Regions from separate parts of the Homo sapiens genome. Here all the other regions are linked to region 1. Evidence: promoter capture Hi-C in 16 types of primary human blood cells and fetal thymus (Javierre and others, 2016). All regions are on one chromosome and are shown on one strand. Each heading gives the region's core, a stretch centred on a gene start or on the middle of the fragment in contact. The rest is flanking DNA. Distances are from core to core; before and after follow the strand shown. Region 1 holds the start of TPST1 (tyrosylprotein sulfotransferase 1). Region 2 overlaps TYW1 (tRNA-yW synthesizing protein 1 homolog). Region 3 overlaps TMEM248 (transmembrane protein 248). Region 4 overlaps RABGEF1 (RAB guanine nucleotide exchange factor 1). Region 5 holds the start of RABGEF1 (RAB guanine nucleotide exchange factor 1). Region 6 has its middle 20 kb from the start of RABGEF1.

The links. Contacts are between HindIII fragments. The CHiCAGO score rates a contact against its expected background, and 5 or more counts as called.
Region 2: a contact is called between a fragment that was not itself captured here and the fragment with the promoter of TPST1 in region 1, in 4 of 17 cell types (total B cells, naive B cells, M1 macrophages and 1 more). The highest score is 9.0, in total B cells.
Region 3: a contact is called between a fragment that was not itself captured here and the fragment with the promoter of TPST1 in region 1, in 1 of 17 cell types (total CD8 T cells). The highest score is 5.8, in total CD8 T cells.
Region 4: a fragment that was not itself captured here is called in contact with the fragment with the promoter of TPST1 in region 1 in 1 of 17 cell types (M2 macrophages); the score reaches 6.4 in M2 macrophages.
Region 5: a contact is called between the fragment with the promoter of RABGEF1 here and the fragment with the promoter of TPST1 in region 1, in 1 of 17 cell types (naive B cells). The highest score is 5.2, in naive B cells.
Region 6: a contact is called between a fragment that was not itself captured here and the fragment with the promoter of TPST1 in region 1, in 1 of 17 cell types (M1 macrophages). The highest score is 5.2, in M1 macrophages.

What each region holds. Positions count from the first base shown.
Region 1 is chr7:66,203,038-66,207,588 of GRCh38, reverse strand. TPST1 (tyrosylprotein sulfotransferase 1) reads right to left here and starts at 2,255. Exons shown (of 6, transcript NM_003596.4): 1 at 2,067-2,255. RefSeq lists silencers at 1,853-2,212, 2,363-2,632. The HindIII fragment of the contact is 8,515 bases long and covers 54-4,551 here.
Region 2 is chr7:67,005,126-67,009,676 of GRCh38, reverse strand. It overlaps TYW1 (tRNA-yW synthesizing protein 1 homolog), which reads right to left. Exons shown (of 16, transcript NM_018264.4): 4 at 1-94. Among named protein-coding and RNA genes, the nearest start is that of TYW1, 11 kb to the right of the region's middle. The HindIII fragment of the contact is 175 bases long and covers 2,389-2,563 here.
Region 3 is chr7:66,947,150-66,951,700 of GRCh38, reverse strand. It overlaps TMEM248 (transmembrane protein 248), which reads right to left. Exons shown (of 7, transcript NM_017994.5): 4 at 3,007-3,157; 5 at 566-749. Among named protein-coding and RNA genes, the nearest start is that of TMEM248, 28 kb to the right of the region's middle. RefSeq lists an enhancer at 100-1,299. The HindIII fragment of the contact is 299 bases long and covers 1,655-1,953 here.
Region 4 is chr7:66,789,539-66,794,089 of GRCh38, reverse strand. The region is part of intron 4 of RABGEF1 (RAB guanine nucleotide exchange factor 1); the gene reads right to left. It also overlaps the pseudogene GRPEL1P2 and the pseudogene LOC124901840. Among named protein-coding and RNA genes, the nearest start is that of RABGEF1, 51 kb to the right of the region's middle. The HindIII fragment of the contact is 3,035 bases long and covers 465-3,499 here.
Region 5 is chr7:66,738,063-66,742,613 of GRCh38, reverse strand. RABGEF1 (RAB guanine nucleotide exchange factor 1) reads right to left here and starts at 1,881. Exons shown (of 9, transcript NM_014504.3): 1 at 1,822-1,881. RefSeq lists silencers at 1,658-1,797, 1,818-2,087 and enhancers at 1,538-2,204, 2,218-2,267. The HindIII fragment of the contact is 9,271 bases long and covers 1-4,551 here.
Region 6 is chr7:66,718,162-66,722,712 of GRCh38, reverse strand. It overlaps a transcript of RABGEF1 not described here. Among named protein-coding and RNA genes, the nearest start is that of RABGEF1, 20 kb to the left of the region's middle. The HindIII fragment of the contact is 269 bases long and covers 1,752-2,020 here.

The DNA of each region.
Region 1 (4,551 bases), core at 1,006-3,505:
CCACGTTAATCTGAGAAGAATAAAAAAAGAAAAGGGAAGCATCAAGAAAAGCTTTGTTTTGGTCTGAATGGTGGAAACCTGAGGATGTATACCATCCAACAGAAAAAATAATAATATGGGAAGAGATCAAAGACGTTAGCTTTCGAAAGTAAGACCCCTCTTCTTCTGAGATCAGAGGAAAGGATATTAGAAATCAGGTACAGACAGGCACAGACAAAAATGACCTCTCCTTAAGAGTTCAGGGCTGATGCCCACCAATTTATTCTGTGAAGTTAAGTGGCAAAATAAGCAATGAAGAGAAGGCAAGAGTAGGACAAAGAGTCAGAGAAAAATGGTAAAGATCCATAAACAGCCATTTAGATTTTAGGACATAAGAGGAATCTAGAGGTTAAGTCAAAGGATCTCCAGGATCCAGAAGTGCAGAAACAGCACCCAGCAGTTTAGTTATATGATTTTTGCCAGTCTGCCTTGGGAGCCCAGGAGCAGAAAAAGCTGACTGATTCGTCCAGGCTTGAGACCATCAGAGCAAAGGTGGCAAGAATAGTACAGGGCCAATGACAATGCTTTTATCATTTTAAAAAGTCAAACGTATTTTACTCTTTTTTAAAAATCGACTCGCTATTTCCTCCAAGAGCGAGTGTTTGGAGAGGGGGAGGGAGAGGGGTGGATAATTCCTCTCTCACTCTTAGAGGACTTGTCAGAAGTTTCATTCTTAAGCATATTTGGTCTGTACAGCAGCTGATTCCAGGAAATCCAAATCCTGATTCCTCCTGGATCTTAAAAGATGAAAATTCATTGCAGCTCCCTGGACTATCCAGCTAATAGATAAACACGTACCACATTGCTTATATACTATGCCACTTTAGCTGGGAGGTAGGGGCTCTTTCTTTCCTAAAAAGAAAGTTACCCAAACACTGCAGATGGGGATGGAGAGGGGATGGGGAGTAATTACACCGCAAAGCCTGCTGACTAGCAGCCTAAGAATCCTTTACAAAGGCAATTAACATAAAACAATACATGGCACGGATAGCAGAATTGTTTCTTCTTAATGAATGCAGTAATTGACCATTTAATCGCTTTACTGGAGTTCACCAATTTCTCCTGCCATCTCCCATACCATTCTTCAGGCAGAGTCAAATCCCTGTGGACACTGGACTTCTTGCTACCATCATCTGGAAAGTACAAAACGCCTGGAAGGAGGAAGAGGCTAACATGCGTGACCACCCACCATGTGCCAGGCCTACTGTGTGCTAGACTCTGGGCAAGGGACTTTACATGTTATGGGGTGCAGCTCATGTAAGGACGAATGAAGATATTACACTATGGATCTGAGCCAGGCGCAGTGGCTCACGCCTGTAATCCCAGCACTTTGGAGGCCGAGGCAGAAGGATAGCTTGAGGTCAGGAGTTCGAAGCCAGCCTGGGCAACATAGAGACTCCATCTCTCAAAAAAAAAAAAAAAAAAAGCGATGAATCCGGCATTGCAGAGAGTGGGAAAGTGTCTGGAGGTTTAAGAGTAAGAGAAGGAAGAGGAGATTGCGATGGTGGGTGGTCAAAGTGAGGGGAGAAGAGGCGAGTTGGGAAAGGAAGGTGCTTAGGAGCAAAAGGGCAAGACCCAGGGACACCTGGAGCGGGGCGGGCGACTGCCATGCAGACAGGACTACGTACAACGGGTAGGATGATGGGGCGATGAGCTCAAGAAGCGCAGCCGGGGTAGACGTGGGGGCAAATGTCCGATCCCGGCGAGACGAGGGTCTCATCCCAGGGGACTGCGGGGCTAGGACGTGGTCCCAGGGCTGCGAGAAGGGAGAGAAAGGGCAGAGGGGAGAGGCCCCGGCGGCCGGGGCGAAGCCGAGCCCGGGAAATGCCGGCGATGGGGGAAGGGGCGTGGGAGCAGGGGCCGGACGGGCCAGACCCGGGGCTCCGCGCTCGGGGGCGGGGTTGGACAACCGGGAGGCACCGAGCAGAAGGCGACAAGGGGCCAAGGGATGCCAGGACGGGGCACAGGGCCGGGTGTGAGGAGACGAGAGGGGAGCGGAGCCGCAGCGAGCGCCGCGTCCCCCTTACCTGGGATGAGTGAGGAGCCGCCGCGCCGCCTGGACGGCATCCTGGCCTCAGCCGCTGGTCCCACCGCCTTCGGTGGGGGGCCACTCGGGAGCCCGCCCTCACCGCCAAGCGCCGGCAGCTGCCAGCCTGGACCGGCCCCGCAGAGCAGCGCCGTTCCGACCCGCAACCGAAGCCGCCTCAGCAGCGTCTCCCGCGGTCGCCAACTCAGCGACAACCGCCAGGGTCCGGGGAGGTGGCGGGATCACACATCTGCTACGATTGGCTGAGCGGACGATGTGTCGGCTGCTCTGATTCGTGAGTTCCGGCCGGCTGCCCACCGAAGGAGGCGCGGCTGGGAATGGAGCTGGGTCCGGCAGGCGCCGAGGGGCGGGGGTCTGACGTCGCAGCCGGCCAGCGCCCCCACAGCCCTTCCCGTGCGCGCTCCCGAGGGGGCTTCCCGGCAGCCGCAGGCCTGGCCGGGTGGTTGCCCTAGCAACAGCGCGCGTGGCCTGGCTGCAGGGGAGCCGCGGGCAGGTGGCGGTCCTCACCGCCCCCACCCCCAACGTGGGTGTCCCAGAGGCCTTCATCAGTGAAACCCTAGGACAGGAGAAGAAAATGAGCTTTTCCTGATAATTCCTCTCCTCTGCTTCAGAGCCCACCTTTGCCCGCTGCTGGCAGAGAAGCTGTCATCTCCTCGGGGAGATAACGCGCAAATGCAAATAACGAACTCAAACACTATTTCATCCCCACGAGAGTGTAGACGTGCAATAGTCCCTCCCAACCACAGAGGTGGGGGGCTGACGCCCTAAAAGAAAGAAATGAAAACTAGGGAGAAAAAGGCAAAGAAGCAAAAGAAAGGTGGGGAAAGGGCAGATATTTCACAAAATGATCCATTCATTTTACAGTTTCTTCCTACAGACACATCTACACCAGGTTCTGTCAAAGCAATTATTTCTACTCCAGTGACATGGATTAGAGAAGGCATGAGTGCAGAATCTAACAGCTGTATTCAAAATTGCTCTCTGCTAGGCCAGGTGGGGTGGCTCATGCCTCTAATCACAGCACTTTGGGAAGCCAAAGCTGGTGAATCACCTGAGGTCAGGAGTTCGAGACCAGCCTGGCCAACATAGTGAAACCCCGTCCCTGCTAAAAATACAAAAATTAGCCGGGCATGGTGGCGGACGCCTGTCGTCCCAGCTACTGGGGAGGCTGTGGCAGGAGAATTGCTTGAACCCGGGAAGGTAACTACCTTCCTTTGCACACAGTATAATATTTTCAAAGTTCATCCATGTTGTAGCATGTATCGGCACTTCATTCCTTGTTACGGCCGAATAATAGTCCATTATACAGACATCACCTTTTTTTTTTTTGAAGAGTCTCACTCTGTCTCCCAGGCTGGAGTGGAGTTATGTGATCTTGGCTCACTGCAACCTCCACCTCCTGGGCTCAAGTGATTCTCATGCCTCCGCCTCCAAAGTAGCTAGAATTACATGCATGTGCCACCATGCCTGGCTAATTTTTATATTTTTAGTAGAGACGGGGTTTCATCAAGTTGCCCAGGCTGATCTTGAACTCCTGGCCTCAAGTGATCTGCCTGCCTTGGCCTCCCAAAGTGCTGGGATTACAGGCATGGGCCACCGTGCCTGGCTGGACATCATCTTTTATTTATCCATTAATCCATTGATGGACATCTGTTTCTACTTTTTTGGCTATTATACATGATGCTGCTATGAACATTTGTGTAGAAGTTTTTGTGTGTGGCCGGGTGCAGTGGCTCACGCCTGTAATCCCAGCAGTTTGAGAGGCCGAGGTGGGCGGATCACAAGGTCAGGAGATCGAGACCATCCTGGTTAACACGGTGAAACCCCGTCTCTACTAAAAATACAAAAATTTAGCCAGGCATGGTGGCTGGCGCCTGTAGTCCCAGCTACTCGGGAGGCAGAGGCAGGAGAATGGCGTGAACCCGGGAGGTGGAGGTTGCAGTGAGCCAAGATTGTGCCACTGCACTCCAGCCTGGGCAACAGAGTGAGACTCCGTCTCAAAAAAAAAAAAAAAAAGAAGTTTTTGTGTGGACCTCATTTGATCTTTACAGCAACTGTCTAAGGTACATATGATATCTCCTTCTACAGATAATCAGCTGACTGGGTGTGGTGGCTCACGCCTGTAATCCCAGCAGTTTGGGAAACCCAGGCAGGAGGGTCCCGTGAGCCCAGGAGTTCTAGGCTGCAGTGAGCCATGATGGCACCACTGCACTCCAGCCTGGGTGACAGACTGAGACCTTGCCTCTCACCCAAAAAAAAAAATAATAATTATATATATGTGTGTGTGTGTGTGTGTTTGTGTGTATATGTGTGTGTGTGTATATATGTGTGTGGGTGTATACACACACACACACAGAGATAGATAAGAAAACTGACTATAAGATGGTAGACAGCAATTTTGTTGTTTGTTTGTTTTTGTTTTGAGATGGAGTTTCGCTCTTGTTGCCCAGGCTGGAGTGCAATGG
Region 2 (4,551 bases), core at 1,227-3,726, 800 kb before region 1:
TCAGATGATCATCTGGATCATATTCTTTTAGATTAATAATGGCCACAGGCAGATCCAGGGATGTAACTGCTTCAGCAAGAACTGTTGCGAATCCCTAATAGGACCAAAAAAAACATCAAATAAAGTCTTCAATGAGCCAAATATAACCCTCATTACCCCTGTTGGCACAAGAATGTGGCATTCCTCATGAAAAATATTTTCAGTGACTGATATGTATCTTCATGAACACAAATTCTATCCTCACTCTTACCATTTTCTTGGGCACCATTACAGAGATCATTCATTTGTGTTGTTCTCACCCGATCAGGGTTTACATAGGACTGAATCTAATTTGGCTTTGGATGATCAATCTGCCTTGCCCTACTAGAGTAAACATATCAGCCAGGCAAGATGGCTTATGCCTATAATCCCAGCACTTTGGGAGGCTGAGGTGGGAGGATCACTTGAGGCCAAGCCTGGACAACAAAGTGAGACCTCATCGTTATAAAAAAATTTAAAAATTAGCCAGGTGTGATGGCACACACCTATAGTCCCAGCTACTCAAGAGGCTGAGACGGGAAGATCCCCCGAGCCCAGGGGTTAGAGGATACAGTGAGCTACGATCACACCAATGCACTCTAGCCTGGGCCACAGACTCAGATCCTGTCTCATAAAGAAAATAACATATTAAAAAACAATAAACACAGAGAAGTGCAAAAAGAAATAGTGAAGAATGGGCTGGGCACAGTGGCTCACACCTGTAATCCCAGTACCTTGGGAGGCCGATGCAGTTGGATCACTTGAGGTCAGGAATGCGAGACCAGCCTGACCAACATGGTAAAACCCCGTCTCTACTAAAAATACAAAATTAGCCAAGCGTGGTGGCACACACCTATAATCCCAGCTACCCGGGAGGCTGAGGCAGGAGAATCACTTGAATCCAGGAGGCGGAGGTTGCAGTGAGCCAAGATTGCACCATTGCACTCCAGTCTGGGCAACAAAACTCCATCTCCAAAATAAATAAATAAATAAAATAAAAGAAAGAGTGAAGAGTGAAAAGAATGGGAAACATGAAAAGAAGCCGGTTGACAGACAGGAAAAAGTCCTAGGGAAGAGTTCACAGGGCTAACAGAACCCCAGAGAAGCTCTAGGCTGGGAGCAGCCACTACAACAAAAGATGGAATGAATATCTTTTGTACGCTAATGAGATGGCTTACTGGAGTGAGGCCTCAGATAGCTTCAGGATGGAGGCTCGTTGCCAGAGAAACTGATGAGAAGTTAAACTCAGCACCTCCTACCCCAGCCCCAACAGGGAACACTAGGGAGAGAAGAGGGGCTGGAGATTGAGTTTAATCACCAAGGCCAATGATTTAATCAATCGTGCCTATGTAATGGAGCCTCCAAGAAAAACCCCTGAACAATGGAGACTGTTGACTTGGTGAACATACCAATGTGCTGGGGAGAAGACACGGCCAGAAACGGCCTGGAAGCCCTGCTCAACCCCCACCCCTCCATAGCTGGCCCTGTGCAGCTCTTCCATTCGGCCGTTCCTGAGTTGCATCCTTTATGATAAACCACTAAACATAAGTCAAGCAACTTCCTGAGGTCTGTGAGTCATCCTATAGAACCTGAGGAGGCAGTGGTGCAGAACCCTAAATTTAAAGCCGGGACTTGTGACTGGTGTCTGAAGTGGGGGCAGTCTTGTGGGCTAATGATAACTCCCAATAGTAAGCATGAGAACTGGTATAGAAAAAGGACAGGTTGGCCAGGCGTGGTGGCTCACACCTGTAATCCCAACACTTTGGGAAGCCGAGGCGGACAGATCACCTGAGGTCAGGAGTTCAAGACCAGCCAGACCAACATGGTGAAACCCCATCTCTACTAAAAATACAAAAATTAGCCAGGAGTGGTGGTGGGCACCTGTAATCCCAGCTACTTGGGAGGCTGAGGGAGGAGAACTGCTTGAATCCAGGAGGCAGAGGTTGCAGTGAGCCGAGATCGTGCCACACTGCACTCCAGCCTGGACGACAGAGCGAGACTCCATCTCAAAAAAAAAGAGAAAAGGTATTTGGGGGTCAGAAAACAGTACTGCAGCAGGCCTCAAGGACTGATACGGTTTGGATATTCGTCCCCTCCAAATATCATTAACACGTAATCTCCAATGTTGGAAGTGAGCTCGAATAGGAGGTGTTTGGGTCATGGGGGTGGGTCCCTCAGGAGTGGCTTTGTTACCAGTGGAGGGTCTTGCCTAGGAGTTGTCCAGGTTGTTCACATGTTCAACAAAGAACTGAAAAAAATGCAACAAGCGAAGCAACAAAAACACAGATTTATTGATGGGAAGGTACACTCTACAGTCAGGAAGCAGGCTTGAGCAAGTGGCTCAAGAGCTCCAGTTGTTTTTATTAAGCTTAGGTTTTTATTAAGCTAGAAGAATTTGGTAACACCCCCAGGTATCCTTGGGAGGCTTCCAATTGGTTACACCCTATATAAATGAAGAATTGGCTCATGGCCAATCAGAGGCTGCAGTGGAGTTATACCATATGCAAATAAAGAATTAGCCCACAGCCCATCAGAGGCTAAAGCTTTCCTTTCAGTTTAATTCAAGGACGTCAGCCACAGGTTGGCCTTAGGCTCTGTCTCCAGACTCTACTTTCCTACCTCAGCTTGCCGCCCTCCCCTTGGTGTTGAGTTCTTGCCCTATTAGTTCATAGATGGCTGTTAAAAAAAAAAAAAAAAAAAAAAAAAAAAAGCCTCACATCTCTCCCTACTGTTTTGCTCCCTCTCTCACCATGTGGTACCTATTCCTCCATGGGTGGAAGCTTCCTGAAGCTTCACCAGAAGCCAAGTGGATGTTGGCACCATGCTTGTAGAGCCTGCAGAACCATGAACCAAATAAACCTCTTTTCTTTATAAATTACAGTATTAGTCCATTCTTGCATTGCTATAAAAAAAATACCTGGCCGGGCATGGTGGCTCATGCCTGTAATCCCAGCTCTTTGGGAGGTCAAGGCGGGCGGATCACTTGAGGTCAGGAGATCGAGACCAGCCTGGGCAACATGGTGAAACCCCATCTCTACCAAAAATACAAAAAATTAGCTGGGCATGGTGGCATATACCTGTGGTCCAGCTACTTGGGAGGCTGAGGTGGAAGGATCGCTTGAGCCTGGGAGGCAGAGGCCGCAGTGAGCCGAGATCACGCCACTGCACTCCAGCCTGGGCAACTGGGTGAGACTCCATCTCAAAAAAAAAAAAAAAAAAAGGAAAAAAGAAATACCTGAGATTGGGCAATTTATAAAAAAAAGACATTTAATTGGCTCACAGTTCTGCAGACTGTACAGGAAGTGTAACGGCATCTGCTTCTGAGGAGGCCTCAGGGAGCTTCCAATATTGGTGGAAGGCAAAGGAGGGGCAGGCACATGACATGGCAGGAACAAGAGAGAGAAGGAGGCAGTGCCACACACTTTTAAACAGCCAGATCTCATGAGAACTCACTGTCACGAGGACAGTACAAGGGAGATGGTGCTAAACCTCTCATGCAAAATCTGCCCTCAAGATCTAAGCACCTCCCGCCAAGCCCCACCTCCAACAATGGGACTACGATCCGACGTAAGATTTGGTGGGGACACAGATCCAAACCATATCAATTACCCAGCTGCAGGTATTCCTTTATGGCAATGCAAAACAGACTAACACAAGGATAAAGTGAGATTTGAGCCAAAGCCAAAGGAACTGGGAGAACCATGAGGTTATCCCAGGCGGCAGGAACAGTGAACTGCAAAGGCCCAGAGGAGGTTACTAAGACTGAAAAAAAAGAAACCAAGGAGATGGGGTAAGAGAGTTAACAAAGAGCCACACGTGTAGGATCTCTGGGCCACTGTGAGGACTCAAGCATTGACTCTTGAATGAAGGGGTCAGTGCAGGGTTTTAAGCAGAGGGATGACGTGACTTCACCTAAGTTTTCAAACAGTCACTGAGGTTGCTGAGTTGAGAGTACACTGGAGTCAGAAGAGGGCCAAGTGGTACTGAATCAGAAACACTGTCTTAGTCCATTTTGCTATAAAGGAGTACCTGAGACTGGGTAATCTATGTCTTTTATTTTTTTGAGACAAGGTCTCACTCTGTCACCCAGGCTGAAGTGCAGTGGCACAGTCACGGCTTACTGCAGCCTTGACCTCCTGGGCTCAAGCAATCGTCCCACCTCAGCCGCCCAAGTAGCTAGGACTACAGGCACATGCCACCATGCCTGGCTAATTTTTGAATTTTTTGTAGAGATAGAGTTTTGCCATGTTGCACAGGTTGGTCTCAAACTCCTGGTCTCAAGTGATCCACCTGCCTTGGCCTCCCAAAGTGCTGGGATTATAGGCGTGAGCCACTGTGCCTAGCCCAATCTATGTTTTAAAAAGGTTTATTTAATGCAGAGAACCCCAGTGAGATATTACGTAAGATGGCCATCCCCAAGACACAAAATCATCAGATTCTCCAGTCGAAATGAAAGAAAAAATGTTAAAGGCAGCTAGAGAGAAGGGGCAGGTCAGCTACATAGGGAATCCCATCAGGGTAACAGTGGACCTT
Region 3 (4,551 bases), core at 555-3,054, 740 kb before region 1:
GTCTCTAAAAAAGTAAGTGGGCTCAAGTCTAAGTAGGAAGCTGAGCTAGCAGCACACAGCTACTAGATGAGATAGGTAAGTATTTTGTTCCCCTTGCCTCTTGGTTAAGTTAAATCCTATTCAGGCCTCACTCTCTAGCCGAAGATTCATCTCCTCCTACTACTCCCTTCTATCTTTCAGAACTCTAAGCAGCACTATTTCTTGTTCACACGGACACTAACTAGATAGTCTTCTATGAACGTCTGTGAACATCCCTCTAAGATAATATTAATAGAAGGATCCCTTGTAACCCCCCCCAGGGATTAGGCAGTTGCTCAAGAAATAACTGCTGCTGAACAACAGAGAAAATGAAGAGAAAAACCAGATTTTTCTTAACCAATGGGTAACATGTTTTTCCAAGCATCCACCACTCCGCCTAGTGTCCTAACTCACCTGGAAATCTAAAGTGGCAGAGGATACGCTTACCCAGGGAAGTCAGCAGGGCCTACACCAACGGTTGCAGCACATGCGCACACATGTGCATATGCATGCACGCACACACACACACACAATTTTTCTCACTTACATCTGGAACAATCACTGTAAGCTTGGGATTTAAAGCATGATAGACTTTTCCAATGGCCCCCTTATAACACCAGAAAGGATTGTAATCTTGGGCGTATTTTGTGTTGGCATCTCTGGCAGTTGTGAAGATCTTGTACCAGAGCGTGGCGTTGCTGTACGTGTCAGGAACACAGTGCGGTGGCTGTCTGCAGGAGAAGAGGAGGAGGAAAGACACGTGCTCAGTGGCCTGAGTCATTCACTTGTGTCACCCCCACAGCAGCTGGTAAAACACTGAACACGGCAACACACATGGAAAGGAAAAATGTAACTTACACGTTCATGCTTCTTTGAGATAAATACCATTATATTTTAGTTTGAGGGTCTTTTTTAAAAAATAAAAATATAACAGAAAAATAAATAGGTGCCTGACATTTAGGAGTTTGGGTGTTGGATTTTTGCCTTCAGAATTCAGCCTACAGTCCTCTCACATGTGATGCAAAGCACATAAGCTCCTTTTAAGCCTATCTTCTCAAATGAGCTAAACTCTTAGTATATTAGTCCTTTCTCATGCTGCTGATAAAGACATACCCGGGACTGGGTTATTTATAAAGGAAACAGGCTTAATTGACTCACAGTTCAGCATGGTCAGGGAAGCCTCAGGAAACTTACAAGCATGGCGGAAGTGGAAGCAAACACATCCTTCTTCACATGGCGGCAGCAAAGAGAAGTGCCAAATAAAAGGTGGAAAACCCCTTATAAAACCATCATATCTCATGGGAACTCTCTTACTATGAGAACAGCAGCATGGGGGTAACAATCTCCAGGATTCAATTACCTCCCACTGGGTCCCTCCCATGACACATGAGGATTATGGGAACTACAATTCAAAACGAGATTTGGGTGGGGAGACAGCCAAACTATATCATCTTTTTTTTTTTTTTTGAGACGGAGTCTTGCTCTGTTGCCCAGGCCGGTGTGACCTCGGCTCACTGAAACCTCCACCTCCCATGTTGAACTGATTCTCCTGCCTCAGCCTCTCAAGTAGCTGGGATTACAGGTGTGAGCCATTGCGCCCAGCCCAAAGCATATCACTTAGTTACAACTGGAAGCTTTACCTACAAAATTCTATATCAGTCACTGCAACACAAAGTAATGTTTAACTTAATCTGATCTTGTCCTACAAACCTCCAAATGTCTAAAATAGACAAATCCTGAGATAATTCTTATTTAAAAAGGATTCACCATAGAATTATTTTAAATAGGCTATATCTTATGTATTTCACCTATTTATTTATAGATAATTATCTCCTTTATAGAGACAGGAGAGACCAAAAAAAACCAACAACAAAAAAAACCTAAAATGCAAAGCAGTAACACTGAATGCTGCTCAAAAACACTGAAGGAAAAGCTTCAAAAACCTTAATTGTTTAATGGAAAATAAAGTTCAATTTATATTTGATTTTAAAACTAATTTTCAAATTCGCAGGTAAAATTAAAGTAACTGTTTAATGGGAAATGATTTAAAATGTTAGATTTTAAAATTAGTTAATTAACAGAAAATAAGTTTTGATTTATACTTGATTTAAAACTAAAATCAAGATAAACTAAAATCAACGATTTTAAAATATCTTTCTGGATAATGGAGATGAACAAAACCTTTATCTTTGTTTTATTTGATTTATTTATTTTTTTGAGACAGAGTCTTGCTGTTGCCCAGGCTGAAGTGCAGTGGCGCGATCTCAGCTCACTGCAACCTCTGCCTCCCTGCTTTAGCCTCTGAGTAGCTGGGATTACAGACATGTGCCATCATGCCTGGCTAATTTTTATATTTTTAGTAGAGATGGGGTTTCACTATGTTGGCCAGGCTGGTCTTGAACTCCTGACCTCAGGTGATCTGCCCACCTTGGCCTCCCAAAGTGCTGGGATTATAGGCATGAGACACCGCACCTGGCTGAAAACCTTTATCTTTAGAGAGCCTCTTTTCTTTTTTCTTTTTCTTTCTTTTTTTTTTTTTTTAAATAGAGACAGGGTCTCCCTATATGTTGTCCAGGCTGGTCTTGAACTCCGGGGCTCAAGTGATCCTCCCACCTCAGCCTTCCACAGTGCTGGGATCGCAGGCCTGAGCCACGGCACCCGGCCACAGTGAGCCTCTTTTCTGTAACTTGCTGCTTCTACTCCTGCGGGAAAGACAGCCTATGAATGTCCAACAACAGCCAGGTGCTTTTACTGCCTCGAGGGGGCACTAACTTTCTGATTTTATATGCAGAAGTTCTATCTTTAGAATTCCAAATTAAATAATCCTTTAGACAAATTAAATAATCCTTTAGATAGGTCCGAGTAGAGATAATTCTATAAAGAAATGTGAAGTGAGCCATCCTGAGAATTTACAGCTGAAGCAGCCCAGCCGTACTCACGGCAAGTGGAGCTTGTTACGCACGTTCATCAGGTGCCGGGTACACTTACACAGTGACGGGGAACACCCCAGGGCTGGCCGTGAGGGTCATGCAGGCTGTGAATACCACCTGCTCACAGTGACCGTGGAGGGCGCAGTCATCTGAGCTCCACGCTGTAGGCAGGGTGAAGGTGATGTTTATCTCCTCGTGGGCTTCCCTGCCTATGAAAGAGAAATCATTTTTTTATAAAGTCAAGAACCACGTACTTGTCATTCTCTGGGATACAAATAAATCCTGAAATCAAACCCACACAGGAATCATCTATCAGCCCAGGCACCTGCCTTTGTGGGATCTGAGGAAGAAGAGCAGTCCTGACCCTGACCATGAGTCCTACTCAACTCAGAGCCACGAAGCAGCGAAGGAAGTGGCCACTTTCCAGTACATGGCCTGGAGATGCCAAACCAGACCTCGGGCAGATCAGAGATGAAAAGCTCGGGCTGGGTGAATTATCCCCAGCATTTCTGCACAGCTGTCTAGCCATTTTCAAACATCTTTTATATGTATTATTTCACTTAAAATTTACTACTCTCCCATGAACATGACTGAAGAAGTGCAGCTGTTCCCCTTTTACATATGAACAAACAGAGGTCAGAGGGTTTCAGAGTTAAGAAAGGCAAGTGATGAAGCTTAAACTAAAACCAACGTATTGCCAGGCACAGTGGTTCACATCTGTAGTCCCAGCACTTTGACTTTAGAAGGCTGAGGCAGGAGGATTGCTTGAGGCCGGGAATTCACGACCAGCCTGAACATGACAGCAAGATTCTGTCTCTACAAAAAAGTTTTAAAAATCAGCCAGGTGTACTGGTGCACACCTGTGGTCCCAGGTACTAGGGAGGATCACTTGAGCCCAGGAGTTTGAGGCTGCAGTGAGCTATGATCACACCACTGCACTCTAGCCTGGCGACAGATCAAGACCCAGTCTCAAAATTAAAATAAAATTTTAAATAAAAATTAAATTAAAATAAAAAATTAAAATATTAAAATAAAATTAAAATTAAAAAATAGCCAAGCGTGGTGGCTCATGCCTGTAATCCCAGCACTTTGGGAGGCTGAGGCGGGCGGATCATTTGAAGTCAGAAGTTCAAGACCAGCCTGGCCAACATGGTAAAATCCTGTCTCCACTAAAAATACAAAATTAGCTGGGCATGGTGTCACGAACCTATAATCCCAGCTACGCGGGAGTCTGAGGCAGAACAGTCGCTTGAACCCGGGAGACAGAGGTTGCAGTGAGCCAAGATTGTGCCACTGCACTCCAACCTGGGCGACAGAGTGAGACTCCATCTCAAAATAACAACAAAAAATCCCGAAGGTGTCCTTATGCCATGCCATAAGCAACAGGTCCACTTGCTACATGGAAAACCCAGAAGTCACCCATACCTTGATTATTATGGGAATATTCTCACCTCTAACAGCCAATAGGAGGCTGGTGGGCACTTAAATTCCTTGAAGGACTTTTTATTTGTTTCTTGTTTTTTTTTTTTTTTTTTTTTGAGACAGGGTCTCACTCTATTGCCCAGGCTGGAGTACAGTGGTACAATCTTAGCTCACTGTAGCC
Region 4 (4,551 bases), core at 733-3,232, 590 kb before region 1:
AGCAACCATCACTAGGATGAAAACAGTTATGTAATTCAGGGTTCAAAAGATGAAAGCAAACAAATTATTCGGGTGAAATTCTGACACCAAAATCAAAAATTTCTCCCAACGGTTCTCATAAGGATGTCACAGTAGAAGAACATGAATAAGGCCGAGAACAAACCCCCAGGACGGGCTGTCACAGACTTCATCTACACAGGCCACTGACCTCACACGCCAAGGGCCGATACATCCTGTGGAAGCCCACAGCAGTCTGACCATCTGGCTTAACTCTAAAAGGATGGCAGGACACTTGGGGTCAGGAGCAGTCACCTCATTCCCTCAGTAAAAATGGCCAAGCACTCATGGCACTTTGTGATCACCTTGACTGCAGCCCTTGTTACTGTCAACTAGTTACCCATATACATGCACACACTGCAGTGCTCAAATCTATCCTTCTACTTCAAGTATTTTATGCAAAAGCTTATCCATTCAATCTTTTTAGGTAGTTTACACATGGTTTTACACCTTTCATTTGCACCAAATTTTAGCACTTAACTTAGAAGAAACTATATTCATTCTTGTGATTATTACTACAGATTTGAGCATTCCTAACCCAAAAATAAAAAATCTGAAATGCTCAAAAATCCCAAATTTGTCAGTGTCGACATGACACCACAAGTGGGAAATTCCACACCTGGCCTCATGTGATGATGGGCTAGAGTCAAAAAGCAGCCAAAACTGTTACATGCACAAAACTGCTTAAAATGTGGTATAAAATTACCTTCAGGCTATGTATGTAAGGCATATATTCAACAAATGAATTCTGTGTTTGGACTTGGGTCCCAGTCCCAAGTTATCTTATATATGTGTAAATATTCCAAAATCTGGGAAAACCCCAAAATCTGAAACACTTCTGGTCCCAAGGCTCTCGGATAAGGGATACTCAACCTGTAGTGCTCGCTTCCAACTAGAAACTCTCTGAGCTCCTTTTAGAGACCCGAGAGGCCTGTCTTACTGGTGTCAAGGGATCATATTCTCCTCCCCCAGCCCAGCACAACCCCTGTAATTTTACAATACAATGCCGAAAACTCCTTTTCTATTTCTACTGCAGTTTATGCTCCAGTACAGTATTGCTTTCATAATGTAAAAGAACTCACCCCTGCCACTGTCTCTCATCCTGCTTTCCATTCTTGTAGGACTTAACACTATGTTACAGATCTGCTTATTGTCCATTTCCCCAACTAAAATGTTAGCTCCACAAGGGCACTGTTCACCACCATATCCTCATGCCTAGAACAAGGCCAGGCACAGGGTTAGTGCTCAGTATGGGTTGAATGAATAAATGTGGCCATTTATTACCATTCCTCCCTTTATAAGATGCTGAAGACAATTCTCCATAGATCTCTTTCTACCTATCTGTGAGCAAAGGCAATGACTGCCTTTGTTTTGCAACATCTTTTCAAGGATTTCTTTATAGAAAACAGCTTTAGGAGACAGAGATAGTGCCTCCTTCAAGAGAAAAGGGTAGACTGCTTACTGTCTAATAAGGATCCCTAAATCCAAGGTTCCTCTCCTCTAATACAACTCACTGCATGCACAGGCTTTCCCTGGTCTTCTCTGCATTATCCTATAGGAACAGATACTCGGGGATAAGCACAAATGCAAATGCTCTGGCTACTGCTACTGCTGTAAGAAACTGGCCTTTGTCTCTGACCCAGGAGACTCGTGTCTTTGGCCAGTATCTGTGAAACCATGGCAGGTTAATTTGTTAGCCTGCAAATAAGGTAACTCTCAGGCCCCTCACAGTGTTTGCCAAAGGGGCAAAGTGAGGGCAGGTTTGTGTTGGTAAGTTCTTTTAGGCTCTACAAAACTCCAAAAGGTTTGTCATAATTTTCCAAGAAAAAAAGATAGTAGAGCAGTGAGTAAATCCTTTACCTCAAGTACTCTCTAATCATTGTACGGGATCATCTTTTCTATAATCTTTTTTTTTTTTTTTTGAGATGGAGTCTCGCTCTGTCGCCAGGCTGCAGTGCAGTGGCGTGATCTCAGTTCACTGCAACCTACGCCTCCCAGGTTCAAGCAATTCTCCTGCCTCAGCCTCCCGAGTAGCTGGGACTACAGGCATGTGCCACCACGCCCAGCTAATTTTTTTATTTCTAGTAGAGACAGGGTTTCACCATCTTGGCCAGGCTGGTCTTGACCTCCTGACCTCGTGATCCATCCTCCTCGGCCTCCTAAAGAGCTGGGATTACAGGCGTGAGCCACCGCACCTGGCATCTTTTCTATAACATCTGAGTAAAGTTGTCGTTTTATTTTTCTAAAATAAATTTTTACTCTGTGATTAAGACATTGACAAGTGGATGTCTATCTTTGAACATTATGCTGAGAGGCACTCTATACACTTTCTTAACAGTCTGGCTGAGATCTTTGTTTCCACTTCCAGTTTTGAAAACCTTTGACTATTTTCCTTGCCTATGTTTTCTGTGTATTTCATCCAGAACTTCCATCATTTCAATGTGAATTGCCACATTCTATTTTATGGGTTCATTAAGTTTTGTCTGTACTGCTGTTAACTGCTTAATCTATTTAGGTATTAGCTTTCATGTCCATATTTTTTTGTATTACCAATTTGTGCTGCCTTCAATAATTTTTTAAAGGAAAAGAACCATATGAGGGCTTTAATCCTCTTTAAAAATGAAACACACATTTAAAGTGTGCCAAGCATGCAGTCCTCATATTCTGAGAAAGTCCATCTCACCAGGGAGTATATCTTGAGGTCATTAGTAACTAGTAGAATACAGACTTAAACATTTCCACATTTAGATGAAGAAAACAGGGCAAAACTAACTGTGTCAAATTCAATTACTGGCAAAATAAAGGTGATGGGAACCGTTAAGATACATATGCTCATTTTGCATCTCCAAAAACAAACAAAAAAGCCAGAAATCCGTCATTTTTAGCAGCTAGACAGTGTCTAAGGAACGCATATGTTCTTCATAAAGGTCATCATGAAATTATTTTTAGCGTAAGAAATGTTTCAACCCTTGCTTTCCCTTTATTGAATGAAATGTGTAGTGGGCTAAGAAATCCAGTAACTCCCATGTTACAAGTTGCACAAGAGACACACAGTGCAGACAGAAGGGTCCAGATTGCCAAAAAGCAGAATTCCCAAAGACATTTTGTTCATTTAAAATACTTTGATGTCACTAGAGTCTGAGCAGATACAGCGTGATTCATGAACTCTAGAAGACCTGTAGTGTCCTATTGGCCTTTTTTACTAAGTAAGTGGAATTATTAAACATGCGGTACTAAAAATCAGAGAACACATTCCTGAATAGGAGTTCATTAATGCAACTGTGAGATCAGCTTACTTTTCTGTTTACCTACTGGTTACTTCTGCTTTCCAACAGCCTTAGGGAAAGTCAAAAGTATTTAGATGAAAAAACATCAACCAGCTTTTCATGAACTACGGCAAGTGATTTAAAGAAAAGAAAATCTTGTAAGAGGCAGCTAAGCTTCCTTCACCTCATCAACAAGGGCGGCGCTAAGGGGCTGCCCATGCTTGAACCTCACTTTTGTAACTAGAACCACTGGGCTCAGCTCTTTCCCCTAAACCAGCATGTGGAACAAGACCTCATGCTAGATCTTCCTGTAGTTCATAAGTGTGATGACTGGGTTTTCACGCTGGGTTTTCATGTGTGAGATATGCCTCCCTCAAACCTTGTTACAACACTGGCACATTGCCTGTCGCATGTGAAGAAAGACGAAAAAAAGACCTCATGCGCATAAGGGTGGAACTTGGCTCTGACAGGGTTCAGCTTGGCAGTGCTTGCTGAACACTTCCTGAATCTGGACTCCACTCATTGTTGAGAGTTTCACAGAGGTTCTTCAGGTGAGGGTTATTGTCTTTAATTTCTTCTTCTGGAACACACTGTGTTGCCTTCTCCAAAACATCTGCAACCTCTAACGAGTCCTTGCAGAAGCCCTGAATGCTATACATATTTGCCTCCTCCACCAATTTTTGGCTGATCTGCTGCAAGTCCTCAGTATCTGCCAATGCTTGCTTATCTTCTTCTACAGCCTCCTTCAGCTGCTCTTCTAACTTGACTTCTTCCATGAGTATCTTGTCCGTAGAGGGAGTATCTGTCCTCCATTTGGTTTGGATCCACATCCTCTTCCAAGTGCTGGCAACTGTTCTTTTGTTTTGTAGCTGTGTGCAGAACTGAGAAGGCTGGGAGACAATGCCAACACCAGGAGACTGCATGGCACCAGCCTCACGCATGGAGCCACCACGGCTGCCCCAGGATGATGATTTAAGTTTCCCCTCGCCTATCACTATGTGCTTCTATGAAACATTTTTAATTATTTTTACTCACTCAACATAATTATCAAATACATCTTTTTTTTTTTTTTTTTTTTTTTTTTGAGATAGAGTCTCGCTCCGATGCTGAGGCTGGAGTGCAGTGGCGTGATCTAGGCTCACTGCAAGCTCCGCCTCCCGGGTTCACGCCATTCTCCTGCCTCAACCTCCCAAGCAGCTGGGACTACAGGTGCTCGCCACCACACCTG
Region 5 (4,551 bases), core at 632-3,131, 540 kb before region 1:
ATTAATAGGCACCTCCTTGTAGTTACTGGCCTCCTCTCCTTTGATTCCCCCCTCTCCCTCACTCCACCCTGTTAGTCTGAATGTTAGTCATTCTTCAAGACACATGCAGAAAGTATTCCCTGATCCCTTCCAGGCTCCACACCCAACAGCATGGCCTAAATGCCCGGCTCCTTCCTCGGTGCTCCATCTTAGCTCACATTCCTTACCACACTGTTTTGAAAGTATCTTGACTGTCCCTTCTCCTCAACTGGCTAACTTCTAGAGAGCAGAAACATGACTGCTTGGAAGGTCATTAAAAATTCAAATCCTGAACATTTCTTAATCCTGCGGATATGAATCAGTGACTCTTAAAAGCAAAATGTTATTTATCATTAAATATTAACAATATAATCACATTTTCTTGCATCTCTGGCAAGTTTCTTGGTACAACAATTTTAAGGAACAGACTCTTAGTTTTTTTTTTGAGATAGAGTCTAGCTCTGTCGCCCAGGCTGGAGTGCAGTGGCACGATTTCGGCTCACTGCAACCTCCGCCTCCCGGGTTCATGCCATTCTCCTGCCTCAGCCTCCAGAGTAGCTGGGACTACAGGTGCCCGCCACGATGCCCGGCAAATTTTCTTTTTCTTTTTTTTTTTTATTTGTAGTAGAGACGGGGTTTCACCGTGTTAGGGAGGATGGTCTCAAGCTCCTGACGTCATGATCCGCCTGCCTTGGCCTTCCAAATGCTGGGATTACAGACGTGAGCCACCGCACCCGGCCGGAACACACTCTTTAACAGCAGTTAAAGCCGCGCAATGGCTCACGCCTATAATCCCAACACTCTGGGAGGCCGAGGCGGGAGGATCACTTAAGGCCAGGAGTTTCACACCTGCCTGGGCAACACTGTGAGATCCCATGTCGAAAAAAATAATAAATAAAAACAAAGCAGTTCTAGGTTTAGAGGGGGGAAAGCAGCTCTCCAGGCCAAAAACCAACTCCCAAGGTGCTCCGGTAAACTCGTCCTGGGAAAATTTCCTACCTAATCTCAAAGGCAAAACGAGCCCACGGGCGCCCACGACACATTTCCCAACCGCAAGGATTGGTCACCCGCGCTGAGACACCGCCAGCTGCCTATGACCTAGCCTCCAAAGCGGCAGAGTCCCTCCCTCTCTCTCCCTAAACTGCCGTGATGGGCATCCCTCGGCTCTCCTCCCAGACGGTTCGGAAGCAGGGACTTCTGCTCCTAACCCCGGCCCCGCAGCCTCGCCCTCAGCCACGGGGTGGAAGTCAGGACCACAGGCTTCAAATCCCCTCCCAACTCCGGGACACTTCTGCCCCCTAGGGTGACGTGGGATCAAGTCCCCGCGCCCCTGCCGCGGCCGGGGGCTGTGGTCTGGGTCCGAGCGTCCCATACCAGCGCTTTCCGGGGAGGTTGTGGGAGGGGCCCCGTGCGACCACAGACGCTGCTTCGGAGCCAGCGGCCTGGACGGAAGGTGGGAGCCGGGGCGAGGGGAGCCGCCGGAGAGGGAGGCGGCCAGGAAATGCTCCGCGTCAGGCCGTCGGGGCTCGGCTGGCGCTGGAGATCCCGGCAACTAGCGTCTGGGACGGAGAGGCCGCACTCTGAGGATTAAGGGAGCCGAGGGCGGCCTGGAACGGGGAAGGCGGCGCTGACGGAGACGGAATGTGGGACGAAGGACAGCGGGAGGCACCGACGCGCAACTGCCCCAGCCGCGCGGATGGCACGGACCGACCGCCCTGCCACCCCCAGCCCGAGACGCCCCGCCGCCCCGCTCCTGTAGCTGAGAGCCGAGCAGCTCTCAGCCCCAGTCCGTCCGCTCCGTACCTCGCCCGCGTCTCCGCCGGCGTCCAAACCACCGCTCGCCCGCTTCGCCCGGGTAGGTCTGGGCTCCGCGGCCAGCTCCCGCCTCACACCCACCCTCCTGCTCGCCCCGCCCCCGGCACCGCCAGCGAACGCACGTTACGCGCGGCGCGTAAACGTCACTTCCGGGGCCTTTGACTCTGGACGGGAGGAAGTGCGAGTGGATCCAAAGGGTCGAGCGGAGTGGGGTACCGCCCTGACGCCCAAGAGCAAATGGAAGAGGGCGGCCTCCGGGGTAAAGGTGGGGCGCTGGGGAGCCCCGGAGAAACCGGCGTTTCCTAGTCTGTCGCTCAGTCCCTGCTTCCGGCTTCCGACGCGCAACAGCTGGAGGGCGACGCTGGCTCCGCGGCGACTCCTGGGGCTGCGGCCGCGGTGGTAGCGCGAATGGGAGGTGGAGCGGAGCTACTGCGCCGAGGGACGCTTCAGAAACTCTGTTTCAGTCCTTCGCGGATCCTAGGATGTGACAGGTGTTCGAGTTAAAAGGTCTTAAGGCGATCGGTTGATCCAAAAGCAGCTGAATCTTTAGGAGGCCCAGGCAGGAGGATCGCTTGAGTCCAGGAGTTCGAGACCAGCCTGGGCCACAGAGCAAGGTCACCATCTCTACAAAAGAAATTTTACAAATCAGCCGGACATGATGGCGGGCACCTGTGGTCCCAACTACCAGGGAGGCTGAGGTGGGAGGATCGCTTGATAGCCCAGGAAGTTGACGGTGCAGAGATCCCTCCACTGAACTCCAGGCCGGGTGACAGCAGAGCGAGATCCTGTCTCAAAAAAAACATAACCGACATCCAGAAGTGAAATAAATTAGCCAGTGTCACAAAGTATTAATGGTTGAGTCACAAATTGAATCCTGTTTACCTGATTCTTTACGTGATTCCCATGTAAGGAATGTTAAAAACAGTAAATACTAATTCCTCTGCGTCCTGAATGCCATGTATGGCGTAACGTGCAGTCACAGCAAGAAAAAAAAGAAAATACTATGCTGTGGCTGTGAGATAGACCTGGGTTAAAATCCCAGCTTTGCTAATTGTCGCTGTAGTGTTCTTGGACAGGTTGCGTAATTTTTCAGTCTATTTTTTTTTTTTTTTTTTTTTTTTTTGAGACTCTCACTCTGTCGCCCACACTGGAGTTCAGTCGTGCGATCTCGGCTTACTGCAACCTCCGCCTCCTAGGTTCAAGCGATTCTCCCACCTCAGCCACCCAAGTAGCTGGAATTACAGGCACCCGCCACCACGCCCAGCTCATATTTTTTTTTTTGTATTTTTAGTCGAGACAGGGTTTCACCATGTTGGCCAGGCTGGTTTTGAATCCTGACCTCAAGTGATCCGCCCACCTTGGCTTCCCAAAGTGCTAGGATTATAGGTGTGAGCTACTGCGCCCGGCCCGAGTTTCTCAGTCTTTATTCATTATTGGTAAAGTAGGGATTAACTGATTCGTTTCTCAGATTCTTCCTAAGTGCCTAATGTGTGCTACGCTGAGGGTACAACAGAGTATAAAACAAAAGTAAGGCCAGGCGCAGTGGCTCACGCCTGTAATCCTAGCACTTTGGGAAGCCGAGGCGGGCAGATCACCTGAGGTCGGGAGTTCAAGACCAGCCTGACCAACATGGAGAAACCCTGTCTCTACTAAAAATACAAAATTAGCCAGGCATGGTGGCACATGCCTGCAATCCCAGCAACTTGGGAGGCTGAGGCAGGAGAATCACTTGAGCCCGGGAAGCGGAGGTTGCAGTGAGCTGAGATTGCGCCATTGCACTCCAGCTTGGGCAACGAGTGAAACTCCTCCTCAAAAAACAAAACAAAACAAAAAAACACAAAGTACCTGTGCTGAGGAGGTGGAGGAGGGAATAAACAATAATTATTTACAGTAGTACCTTGGATGGTGGTAATTGCTATTACCAAAAGACAGAATAACATTTACTTTAAAGCTCTTAACTGACTTTTGTGATTACAGAATCAGGCAACACACCATTCTATAAACCATTCTGTGAAACAGAATGAGTGTTTCTTTTTTTTTTTTTTTTTTGAGTTAGAGTCTCACTCTGTTGCCCAGGCTGGAGCACAGTGGTGCAATCTCGGCGCACTCCAGCCTCCAACTCCCTGGCTCAAGTGATCCTTCTGCCTCCACCTCCCTAGTAGCTGGGATGATAGGTGTGTGCCAGCACACCCAGCTAGTTTTTGGGGTTTTTTTGTAGAGACAAGGTTTTGCCATGTCGCCCTGGCTGGTCTCGAACTCCTGGACTCAAGCAATCTGCCCACCCCGGCCTCCAAAAGTGCTGGGATTACAGGCATGAGCCTAGACCCCTGGGCCCAGAATGAGTGTTCAATGGGCTGAGCAGAAGAGGTTGGTGCTAAAGACAGAAAAGGCCTGAGGAAAGCAGTAACAAAAACTGAATATCATTTCAAAGTTTCTTTGTGAAGGTTAAGCTAGAGAGGACTGGCCGGGCATGGTGGCTCACGCCTGTAATCCCAGCACTTTGGGAGGCCAAGGCAGGCTGATCACCTGAGGTCAGGAGTTTGAGACCAGCCTGGCCAACATGGTGAAACGCCACCTCTACTAAAAATACAAAAATTAGCCAGGTGGTGGCCTGTACCTGTAATCCCAGCTACTCTGGAGGCCGAGGTGATAGGATCACATGAGCCTGGCAGGTTGAGGCTGCAGTGAGCAGTGATCATGCCACTACACTCCAGCCTG
Region 6 (4,551 bases), core at 637-3,136, 520 kb before region 1:
TACTACAAACCTGTAATAATGAAAACATCATAGTAGTGATGTTTTATAGACCCAAATATAAAAGCTAAGGCGACAAAACTCTTAGAAGAAAAGGTAAGCATAAATCTTTGTGACCTTGAATTAGGCAATGGTTTTCTTAGATACAACACCTAAAGCACAAGTAATAAAAGAAAAACTTCATAAATTGGAGTTCATCAAAATTTAAAACTTTGTATTTCTTTTTTCCTTTGTTCTTTCTTTGTAAGGACAGGGTTTTTTTGTCTTTTTGTTTTTGACACGGAGTTTTGCTCTGTCATCCAGGCTGGCGTGCAATGGCACAATCTCAGCTCACTGCAACCTCCGTCTACTAGGTTCAAGTGATTCTCCTGCCTCAGCCTCCTGAGTAGCTGGGATTACAGGCGCGCACCACCACGCCTGGCTAATTTTTGTATTTTTAGTAAAGGTGGGGTTTCACCATGTTGGCCAGGCTGGTCTCGAACTCTTGACCTCATGACCCACCCACCACAGCCCCCCAGAGTGCTGGGATTACAGGCGTGAGCCACCGTACCCAGCCCCTGAGACAGGGTCCTATTCTGTTGCCCAGGATGAAGTGCAGTGAAACAATCATGGCTCCCTGAAACCTTGAACTCCTGGGCTCAAGTGATCTTCCTGCCTAGCTGGGACATCATCAGGTATATTGGCATGTGCTACCATGCCCAGCTAATTTTTTTGATTTTTTGAAAAGACGGAGGGGGGGTCTCACTATATTGTCCAGGCTGGTCTTGAACTACTGACCTCAAAGTGATCCTCCCACCTCAGCCTACCAAAGCACTGGGATTACAGGCATAAGCCACCCCACTTGGCCAAAAACTTTCTGTTTCAAAGCACCAAGGAAGTAAAAAGACAAACCACCTAAATTTGTGTTTTGAGTAGAGACGGGGTTCTACCACGTTGGCCAAGCTGGTCTCAAACTGCCAAGCTCAAGAGATCTGCCCGCCTTGGCCTCCCAAAGTGCTGGGATTAGAGTCGTGAGCCACTGGACCCAGCCTAAATTAAGGATCTTGAGGTGGAGAAATTATCCTGGATTATCTGGATAGGTCCCACTGCAAAGTTTCTCATAAGGGGGGAGGCAGGAGGGTCAGAGTCAGAAAAAGAGATGTGATAATGGAAGCAGAGATAAGTGCCAGAGCAAAGGGGGTGGAATTTGATGATGCTGCACTGTTGCATTTAATGATGGAGGAAGAGGCCATGAGCCAAGGAACTCAGGCAGCACCTAGAAGTGAAAAAAGGCAAGCATCTCCCCCAAGAGCCTCCAGAAGGCGAATCTGTGACATCTTGATTTCAGACAGACTGACTTTGGACTTCTGACTTCCAGGACTGTATGGCAATAAATTTGTATTAAGTCACTATATGGCATATGTTAGAGTAGCAGTAAGACACTAATATACATGTCTCTTATTAAATTTATTCCTAGGTATTTTGATTTTTAAACACTATTATTAATGGCTTTCTTTTGGCCGGGCACAGTGGCTCATGCCTGTAATCCCAGCACTTTGGGAGGCCGAGGCCGGCAGATCACTTGAGCTCGGGAGTTCGAGAGCAGCCTGGCCAACCTGGTGAAACCCCATCCCTACTAAATATACAAAAATTAGCCGGGCGTGGTGACGTGCGCCTGTGATCCTAGCTACTCTGGAGGTTTCAGGCAGGAGAATCACTTGAACCTGGGAAGTGGAGGTTGCAGTGAGCTAAGATTGTGCCACTGCACTCAAGCTTGGGCGACAGAGTAAGACTCTGTCTCAAATAACAACAATAATAATAATAATGGCTTTGTTTTTAAAATTTCAGTTCCCATTGTTTGAGCTAGCATATGGAAATTCAATTGACACTTGGTTCTGCTAACTTATTAGTTCTAGTAGCTTATTTCATATCTCCTGGGACTTTCTATACAGATGATCATGTTGTCTGCAATAAGAACAGTGTTACTTCCTCCTTTCCAGTTGGTATGTCTTTTACTTTTTCTTCTTTTATTATTGCACAAGCTTGAACCTCTAGTACTATGCTAAATGCAAGCAGCAAGAGTGGACATGCTTGCCTTGTTTCTAATCTTAGGGAGAAACAATTCATACTTTATCCATTAAAATATTAGCTTTAAGTTTTTGTAGCTGTATTTTTTCTGGTTGAGATAGTTCCCTTTTATATTTAGTTTGCTGATTTTTTTTTTTTTTAATTATCAGTGGGGTGGGCACAGTAGCTCGTGCCTGTAATCCTAGCACTTTAGGAGGCTGAGGTGAGTGGATCGCTTGAGGCTAGGAGTTCGAGACCAGCCTGGCCAACATGGCGAAACCCCGTCTCTACTAAAAATACAAAAATTAGTTGGGCGTGGTGGTGCATGCCTGTAGTCCTAGCTACTGGGGTGGCTGAGGCACGAGAATTTCTTGAGCCTGGGAGGCAGAGGTTACAGTGAGCCGAGATCGCGCCACTGCACTCCAACCCGGGCAATGGAACAAGACTCACCCTCTCAAAGAAAAAAAAAAAAAAATAATAATAATAATAATAATAATAATGAATGGATGTTGAATGTTGTCAAATGCTTCTTTTCTGCAAGTATTGAGATGATCCTGCCATTTTAAACCTTTCTTCTGTTAATATATTGCATTACATTGACTTATTTTTGTTTTTGTTGTTAAAGCAACATTGTATTTCTGGGACGCATTTCACTTGATCTTGATATTTTATCTCTTTTATTTATTGGGTTTGATTTGCTAATCTTTCTAAAGCATTTTTGCATCTTTTTCCATGAAGACTGCTGGTCCACATCAGGGACCAGCAAACCTTGTTCTGTAAAGTCAGTAAATATGTGAGGCTTTGCAGGCCATATAACTTCTGCTATAACTACTCAACCCTACTACTGTAACAGGAAAACAGGAAAAGACAGTATGTAATTTAATAAATGTGGCTATGTTTCAATAAAACTTTATCTACAGAAACAAATCATAGTCTGGTTTGGCCCCACAAGCCATGGTTTGCTGACTCCTGGTCTATTTGTTAGGTGTTTGGTTTTGGTATCAGAGTTAACACTGGCCTCATAAAATTACTTGGGAAGTATTGTCTTCTATGTTTTCTAAAAGTTTTTGTGGGATTCATATTACTCCCTCCTTAATTATTTGAAAGGATTTACCAGTCAAGCCATCTGGATCTGAAATTTTTATCAGAAAGATTTACATAAAAAAAATTTTGGCCAGGCATGGTGGCTCATGCCTGTAATCCCAGCACACTGCGGGGGGCCGAGGTGCTTGAGGCCAGGAGTTTGAAACTAGCCTAGGCAACATAGCAAGACCCCATCTCTACAAAATATATATAAAAATTAGCTGGGCTTGGTGGCGTGCACCTATGGTTCCCAACTACTCAGGAGGCTAAGATGGTAAACCAGGTACAGACAGAAGGAGCTCTAAGAGAAGCTCTCCATTTGTGGTTCAGACTGCGAAAGGAGGCCCCTACAGGTCAGGAAGAATGGAGACAGCCCCAGTTTGTTTTTTGTGATGTTGTTTTTGTTGGTTGGTTGGTTTTTGGTGTTAATTGCCGTTCCCTACTGTCCCAGCTTCTAGGCAATCACATGACATGGTGAGACAAGCAAAAGCAGTTGGGTAACCACCAAATGCTCTGCGAGGGAACACTTCTCTCAAGAGTCTGTGGCCCCAAGAGTGCTGGAGGGATTCCTGTTGCTGTCTTTCTCTCTATGCTCTTGCCACTTGGCACTGAAGAAAGATGCAGTCGTAAGAAGTATGTGGCAGAGCAGAGAAACTGAAGCCCTGGCTTTAGAGTTAAAGGACTAGGGAGGGGCCCTTGGGAGCTGAAAAGTGTCAGTGAAATTGATGAGAAGAGGGAGCTTGAGATGACAATTTGATTAACAATTTATATAAACTCTTCAGCTCACCCCTGAGCTGCATGTGTGTGCATTTGATCCTAAACAGCACAGGCTTTGAGAAAGAAATTACAGGATGGACCACTCCCCAGGTTCCAGGCTGGCCACTGCGTGGTACATACTCAGGACATATCTGAATACTGCGAAGTATTTGGGAACTAAACTGACATTGTAACCACAGCTCACGGAGTGCAGGTAGGAAGTTGCAGCTTGAACCTAACCAAATCCATTGCCTATTTTTTTTTTATAAATTAAACTTCTCCATAGAATTTAACCACGTAACACTATGTTTGAGACATCCAAAACACAATTCAAAATTATCCAATATATAAAGAACTAGGGAAATCTAAACATCTTACATGGAAAAAGATAATTAACAGATGCCAACCCCAAGATGGCACAGATGTTGGAATTACCAAACCAGGATTTTAAAGCAGCTATTTAACTATTTTTCTTCTTCATTTTTAGACAGAGTCTTGCTCTGTCACCCAGGCTGGAGTGTGCAGTGGCATGTTCTCAGCTCACTGCAACCTCTGCCTCCCAGGTTCAAGCAATCCTCCCACCTCAGCCTCCTGAGTAGCTGGGATTACAGATGTGCACCACCACGCCTAATATTTTTTTGTATTTTTTGTAGAGAGACAGGGTTTCAC